2 separate regions of the Homo sapiens genome follow, and region 2 is linked to region 1. The links are contacts of gene promoters, found by promoter capture Hi-C in human tissues and cell types (Jung and others, 2019). All regions are on one chromosome and are shown on one strand. The core of a region is centred on a gene start or on the middle of the fragment in contact, and the rest is flanking DNA. Distances in the headings are between cores, read along the strand shown.

Region 1 (4,124 bases), core at 1,185-3,684:
TCCTGCTCCAAGCTGTCTGAGGGCCCACCACCTGTCTGGCCTGACCAGGGCCTGCCCTTTCCTGCACGGAAGTGGATGCAGGCAACCTGGATTCTCTGGGGTGCACCCCACATCCCCACTCAGCACTACATCTGCCATACAGAAGTTCAATAAATGCCTCAGCTACTCTGAAATGCCTTCAGTAACTTGACCTTTTATATTCCCCAGCTAATGTCTAATTTGCATATATGAGTCCTTTTTAGGAGATGGCAAATCACCAGAGAAAACGCAGGATCAATACAGAGTATTAGGCACGTTCTATTCTACTCTAATTCTCTGCAAATTGGTATTCCATTAACTGCATGTGGGATTTATGGGAGCTCGCTATAAACTAGAATATTTAACTAGAATGGCCTACTCTGTCAGATAATAGCTTACTGTTGTTAATTTTCAACTAGTCAATCTCAGAAAAGTTTCCAACTTCCAATATACTTCACATCTTGATTTAATCATCCGGAAAGTCATCCATATCAAAGCCTCCATACAACAAAGGGACAGGCAGCTTGATGCAGAAGAAAAAGACCTGCCCTTGGAACCAGGAGACTTGGGTTACACCCCAGCTCTACCACATACTGTGTAATTGGCTGCTCAGAGCCTCCATGTCCTCATCTGTAAAATGGGAGTGACACCAGTCTCACAAGGGAGTTGTAAAGATTAAATAAGACGATACAGGTGAATGTACTCTGTAAGTTCTATAAGGCTATGCAAAGGTTAGTTATTACAAAAGCACAAGATGAAATTCTCAAACAACTCGGGCTAATGACAGAAAGCAAGAATTAAATTGGTGGTTCTAAAGGGGTGCTGGGGTGGCATTTTGCTCCCTAGGGGACATCTGACAATACTGGAGGCATTTTTGATTGGAACAACTGGGGAACAGGAATTGCTACTGGAATCTACAGACCAGGGATGCTTCTAAACCCTACAATGCCCAGGACACAAAGAATTATCAAACCCTAAATGTCAATAGTGCAAGGCTGAGAAACCCTGATCTAAATAATCGCTTAAAGTTGGATTTGGGAGCTTTTTAAAACAGAAATCTTCCTAAGCAGGCTTTACTTTCTCCCATCATCTGCTTAAACATTTGCAAGATGGATCATCTTGCAAAACAGCTCTTTTGTAAGTGAAGCCAACTGCCAACTTCTGGAGTTTCTGAATGTATAAAACTGCTTTTAAAGGAGATGCTCTCTGATTACAATTCGGCTAAATTGTTTTTCCGAAGGCCTTGACTTCGGCAGAAGTTCTCCTGGGCACAGAGACAGGGTCTGTCACTCCACCACTAGGCCCTGAAGATGGTTTCCTAATTCTAATTTCCTCCTGAAATGAGAGCCACGAGGGTCTCTAAACGAATTAAATTCACATCACGCCAACTGCTTGCTAGCTTTGTGCCGGGCACGGTGCCAAACACCTCCACATAATTTATCCCACTTAATCCACTCAACAACCCAGCGAGGTGGGCATTATTACCAGCTGATTGCAAGGGAGGAAACTGAGGACCAGAGAGGTTAAACAACTTGCCAAGGTCACCAGCTGGCCAAGGGGGAGCCCAACTTGAACGGAGGTCTCCAGTTTCCAAGTCACAAGCTCTTTCCACCAGCTTGGAAAACCCAGGTGTCAAGTTGTCTCAACTTCCCATGAATTTTTAAGGCAACCGCAACTTCTCAGTAAGTTTAGGTAGCTGAAAATGGGAATTTCGGGGGGGCTGGGCACTCTCACATACACTCCCCCATCTGCAGCTGTCTCACCGCAGGTACCTGATAAATCATTCCATATCGTCCGCGGAACGGGGAGGATTTATTGGCTCTGGAGTTTCGTGCCAGGCCCAGGAAATGCCATCTTTGAAAGCCGAGAGGCGGATTCGCCCTGGGAGCCGAGCGCTGGCAGCCGCTCTCGGCTAGCTCCCCGCGGGCTGTGTGCCCCCTCGGAGCCCCGAGCCGGGGTCGCGGCGGCACGGGGTCCTCCGGAGGTGCCGGACGCACGGGCTCCGCGGGTTGCGCCCGCCCCTGCCCGGCTGGAGCGCACGCCCACGCTCCGGCGCCGCGTCCCGGCCGCCAGCCCGCCCCGGCCGAGCCCCACCCGGCGCCCCGCCCGCGCCCTCCCGCCCCGGCCCCGCCAGGTGAGCGCAGCGGGGCGCCCCCTCCCCGCCCCGACGTGGTGCGGGGATCCCGGTGCAGCCGCACCCGCCAGCCCGCCCGCGCGTCCGCCGCGCGCCCCAGGGACGGGTGGGGGCGGGGTGGCGCCGAGCGCGACCCCGGCCCCCGGCAGCCCCGCACCCTGCCCCCGGCCCGCTGGGGTCGCACGGGCCCGTACCTGCAGCATCCGGGGGCGCGGAGCGCCCAGGTAGGTCGCGCGTGCGGGCGGCGCGGAAGCTCGCTCGCGGCGCGACCTGGCCGCCGTCTGAGCATGCCCAGTGCCGCCCGCGGGCGGTTCCCGCCGGCCGGGCTGGCCGCGACGGGCCCGCGCGCCGGGCGGGGGGCGGGCGTCCGGGCTGGCCTGCGGTGTTCTCCCGCCCCCGCCCCGGGCTGGCGCGCCCCGACGCATCTCCTAGGGGCACCGGGGCTCTCCGCCGAGCTCCGGGCAGGTCCTGAGTTCCCTCGCGCATGCATGCAGCCATTCGTTCCACAGCCATGACTGGGCACCTACTGTGTGCCAGGCCCTCAGTGATTTCATGCCTAGGGAAGGCAAGAAGTCGGCGCCCAAAGAAACTTTGAAATGAGGAGTCTTGCACGACGGGTGCGCGGTTGAGCTGAGGTCCCGCTGACTTCCAGTCCAGTGCTCGTCCCTTGGCACTAGTAAGCTTCCCTGGTTAAACCTCCCCAAGGCTCGTGGGACCCCTACCTGATCTGTGCTCCTGCTTCCCACCTCCGTCTCATCTCACACCTGCCTTCCTGCGGATCCTAGAGCGCCTTTCTGTCCATCAAACACTCGAACTTCACTAACCTCAGGACATTGGCGCCCGCCTTTCCCTCTGTGGGACGTTCTTGCCCAGCTTTTCACGTGGCCGGCGCCTTCTCATTGTACATAGGTCCCCTCCTCAGAGAGGCCTTTCCTGACCACCTTCCTCGATTAGCCCTCTGCTCCTGACCACTCCGTGTACTCTGTTTTCTTCATAGCATTTAACAGTGATTTATCCATTTTCAGCAAATATTTATTGAGCACCTATTCTGGTTTTTCTCGCGTGGGGAACAAATAGACAAAAATTCTGTCCCCCAGTGGAGTTTGGGGAAAGAGGGACAGGTAACAGATAAACAGCAAATTAGCAAACTATGCATTATATTAGAAAGTGATAAGTTCTAAGAGGAAAAAGAGCAGGGTCAGGAGATTTGGGGCTGGAGGTAAGCAGTGAATTTTCAGTGAAGCGGTCGGATAGGGCCCTTGAGCTGATGGACGGTCTGATTGGGTGACACTGAGAAGGTGATAGTGGTATTTCAGCCACGCAGATAAGCAGGGAAGAGCATTCCTGGCCGAGGGAACAGCCAGTGCCAAGACCCAAAAGAGCGCCGGACCGCTTAGGGAACGGCAAGGAGGCAGAGGAGCAGATGAGGTTGGTCACTTTGGCTTTTCCTCCGATTTGTTTAATTCTCATGTTGTATTTCCCTCCTAAATGTCAGCTTTGGGGCTGTAGCTCTGCTTGTCTTTACTGCAGTGACCCCCCTGCAACACTGTCTGGCACACACTAGGCGCTCAAACATTATTTGTTGAATATGTGAACGAAGGGATGCAGAGATGGTTGGAACCCTCCAGTCGGGCCTGGGTGCCAGGTCCTGGGGGCAGTCGTTCCAGGGATAGACTGAGGCCTCGGCAGCCCCTGGAACCTCATTTCGGTCCTTGTCCCGGAGTCGCACGTCCCGGGATAGCGCCGCTGCAGCGGGTGCCGCCCGTGCATCGCGTCGGGGGGATTTCCGACGGAGCCCGGAGTCCAGGGGCAGGACCGCCCGCGCCCCGCCCGGCCCGGCCCGGCCTCGAGTCGCCAGCAAAACCTGGAGCCGCGGCGCCCGCTCAGCACCACTCGGACGGGCGGGGAGCGCACTGGGCATGCTCGGAGCCGGGCGGGGCCGGAGCCCCCGGAAGGAGGAGCCCCCTGGAGG
Region 2 (4,056 bases), core at 1,159-3,658, 34 kb before region 1:
GACCCAGGGATCAGTTTTTGTCACCCTTTGCATTCTTGTGGCCTTTTATTGTTCCCTCAATTGTTCTCTCATCCCATCTTCTCTTCTGATGTCTTTCCTTGCACACTGAACTTTACAGGTTGGGGCAGATCCTAGCAGCCAGTTCAGGGTTGGGACTGATCCTGTTAGGACTGGCCAGAGGATGGAAGAGGTCATGGGCAAAGGTCACGGGCTCGGTGGTGACTGGGGTGGGTGGGCACCATAGGCAGCCATGGTCCCAGTATCTTCCTGCAGCTGGCCTGGGAGACTGGAGACCTCGTTTCTAGTGCTGGCTCTGCCACGGGCTTTAAGTGGGATGAGCCAGAACCTCCCCAAGCCCTGCCATCTGTGAGGCTGATTGTTTCACAACCCACTCACTCACACATTTAACGAGCACATGCTGTGTGCCCAGCTTTGTGCCAGGCACGGGGGAAACAACACCCTTTCTATTCTTTCCTGTTTTCAAGGAGCTCAGTTTCATGGGCAACATATACCCTAATCACTACTTGAAAAAATGCAACCTGACGTGGGCTCTAATGAAGCATATATAGGGTGCCATGATGCCTCCAGATGTTGGTGCTTCCGTGGAGTCCTCATCCACTTCCCAAACCAGTCTCCTTCAGAAAGTGGATGAGGACTTCCCAGAAGCACCAACATCTGAGCGTCAAACAGTTCACACCACACAGAAGGGCGGGGGGAAGACCCTCAGGGCAGAGGTGAAATTGGGGCAACATTTTTAAGTATTTCCAGTGCAATCTCAACATACAAGATCTGAGATCTCAAGCTTTCATTTTAAAATATTTTTTTCTTCATTTTGTGAGCCAAGAGATGAAAACTATTTGTTAGGAGCATTAATTCAGGAAAAGTAAAAAAAAAAAGTAGAGAACTTACAGTAACTTTAAAGGTCTGTACCACGCCATCTAAAAAGTGGATGCTGCAAATGACTTCTGATCGAGTTTTCTCTTTGGGTAACTCCGAGGTGCGTATATTATTAATTCTTCCACCCAACGCACGTAACCGGGAGGTCATAACTATCGCTGAATAACCTGTAACATAAAATATACCTGTTAGTGCTTTAATATGCGAATTGTCAGTTACTTGTGAGTGCAGATACCTGTCAGATCCCATCCTCTCGATACTGTCTGACGGACTCACAGATAATGAGAACTACATAGCAGATCATGTTTCCAATTGAGTTTTGACTTCTAAGATGCTCTAAGCAATATGTATTGCTAAATTGTACGTTCACAGAATTACGTGGCTTATTTGCATGTCTTATTAACTCCCTGGTCTGAGTCTTCTAATTTATATTTCCCAGGCTTTTAAATTTTTATTTATGTTTCACAATTTTATGTATTTGTGTTCTACCTCTAAGGTTTTACAGAACTAAACATGGTATAAATATGATTTCAAATGTGAAAAGACTCATTGATAAACTGATATTAAAATTAAGGACCTCTATTCATTGAGAGACACCATTTAGGGCAGCAAAAAGGCAACCGATAGAGTGGGAGGAGATAGTCGCAATATATACATCTGCCAAGAATATATGGAGTGCTCCTGCTAACCTAGTGAGAGGAAGTAACAGAAAACTCCTTAGAAAACAGGAAGAAAACAAAAACAGGTACTCAACCATATTAGCTGTCAAAGAAATGCAAATTAAACCCACAAAGCAATAGTACCACACACCCACCAGAGAACCCCTATGATTCAAGACTGGCAAAACCACGGAGGGTGTGGAGCAACCAGAACTCTCACATGCTGCTGGTGAAAGCATAACTCAGTGCAACCACTGTACGATGGAAAACTGCTGAATAGTATCTACTAAAGCTCAACATATGCATTTATTGTGATAGAACAATTTCAGTCATGGGCACATTCCCAGCAGAAAAATGTATATTCACTCACTAAAAGACATGTACCAGCATCTTGTGGGAGCTAAACTTTGAGAACATATGGACACAAAGAAGGGAGCAATAGCTACCAGGGCCTACGTGAGGGTGAAGTGTGGGAGGAGGGTGAGGATTGCAAAACTACCTTTCGGGTACTATGCTTATGACGCATTTGACAAAATAATCTGTACACCAAATCTCCAAGACACTCAATTTACCTATATAACAAACCTGCACATGTACTCAGAACTTGTAAGCTAAAAAAAATTTTTTTTAAAGTCACGACAATTCAAAGATTTGGACCAAAATATGTATCTAATAAAATCATAATTTATAACAACAACAAAAAAGAATATTCATAATAATCCTAAGCTGGAAAAGACCCCATTTATCAAATGTGGAACGGATAAACTGTGGTACAGTCATACCATATACTACTATACAGCAAAAGAAAGAAATGAACTACCATTACATGCAAAACGTGAATCAATTGCTTTAACATTGAGCAAAAGATATGAGACACAACAGATTATCTGCTGCATGATTCCATTTATGTAAAGTTTACAAACAGGCAAAACTAATCAATGCTGATAGAAGAAAGGATAATGGTTACCTTTGTGTGTAGTGAGGGGAAGGGGGAGATGCATTTTCTGAGATGCTTTTAACATTCTATTTCGTGATGTGGGTGCTAATGACACTGGTGTACTCACTTTGTGACAATTTACCAAGCTCTACATTTATGATTTGTGTACTTTTCCATATGTATGTTTTAATAACAAGTTTACTTTTTTGAAAAAGAGAGTATAATATTTATGAAGAGAGAATTAGAGGGCATTCAAAATCTGACCATGATATTAGGGAACAGTAAGGAAACTGGTTTAACCGGTGATTTCAATGGTGGAGAGGTAGGCAAAAAGACTGGAAAGGTGTGCAACTGAGGACATGACTATATCACGTAGGTGGGAGGATCTAGGCTTCTACAAAGAATACATGAAGCAGCCGGGCACGGTGGTTCACGCCTGTAATCCCAGCACTTTGGGAGGCCGAAGCGGGCGGGTCACCTGAGGTCAGGAGTTCGAGATCAGCTGGCCAACATGATGAAACCTCATCTGTACCAAACATACAAAACTAGCCAGGCATGGTGGCATGCACCTCTAATCCCAGCACTTTGGGAGGCTGAAGCAGACGGATCACCTGAGATCAGGAGTTCGAGACCAGCCTGGCCAACATGGTGAAATTTCATCTCTACTAAACATACAAAATTAGCTGGGCACGGTGGCATGCGCCAGTAATCCCAGCTACTCCAGAGGCTGAGGCAGGAGAATCACTTGAACCCAGGAGGCGGAGGCTGCAGTGAGCTGAGATCTCGCCATTGCACTCCCTGGGCAAAAAGAACAAAACTCTGTCTCAAAAAAAAAAAAAAAAAAAAAAAGAATATGTGAAGTAATTCTACAAATCAAATTGGCTCAGGGAACGGTGAAGATATAACTCTGACAGTGTTGGGTGGAAGAGCAAATAAAGATGAAGGGCCTGAGAGTAAGTTAACTTTTTTTTATTAATTCTCCACAAACTTTCTCTGATGAGCTGGGCCTCTGCATAGGCTATTCCTTCTGCTTGCAAAGCTCTTTCTGCTCCTCTTCATCTGATTAACTCCAGTTCATCGTCAGTGCTCAGCACAAGCATCACTTCCTCTGGGAAGCCTTCCCTGGTCTCCCTAACCAGTCACAGATTTGTGTGACAGAGTTCACTCACTAGTGCTTACCCTCATTTCACACTTAGAACTCATGATGTGTATTTAATATCTGCTTCTCCCACTAGATGCGAAGCCCCACAAGGCTAGGTCTGCTTTTGCTCATTGTACCTCCAAACCTAGGTCTGGTAGAGTTAGTAAATGTCCGAATGAATGGAAGGAAGAATGAAATAGAAAATGAAGCTAAATTTTATAGTCTATATAACATAGACTATATAGCAGTACTGCAGTACAACAATACCGTATAGCAATACAACAGGATAGACAAATTTGACAGAGAAAAATGGGGGAGGGTCTAAGTAGAATGTAGCTAGCTACGGTAGTGTGCACCTGTAGTCCCAGCTACTCTGGAGGCCAAGGTGGGAGGACTGTTTGAGCCCAGGCATTAGAGCCCAG

Evidence for each region. The method cuts DNA at HindIII sites, captures the fragments that hold promoters and counts their contacts. A contact is called where the count stands out against the background at its distance.
Region 2: a fragment that was not itself captured here is called in contact with the fragment with the promoter of PTPN3 in region 1 in 2 of the 25 tissues and cell types used here (aorta and small bowel).

Annotation. Positions count from the first base shown.
Region 1 is chr9:109,495,873-109,499,996 of GRCh38, forward strand. It overlaps PTPN3 (protein tyrosine phosphatase non-receptor type 3), which reads right to left and starts at 2,435. Exons shown (of 26, transcript NM_002829.4): 1 at 2,347-2,435. The HindIII fragment of the contact is 6,343 bases long and covers 1-4,124 here.
Region 2 is chr9:109,462,388-109,466,443 of GRCh38, forward strand. It overlaps PTPN3 (protein tyrosine phosphatase non-receptor type 3), which reads right to left. Exons shown (of 26, transcript NM_002829.4): 2 at 910-1,064. The coding sequence starts at 1,047. Among named protein-coding and RNA genes, the nearest start is that of PTPN3, 34 kb to the right of the region's middle. The HindIII fragment of the contact is 5,519 bases long and covers 1-4,056 here.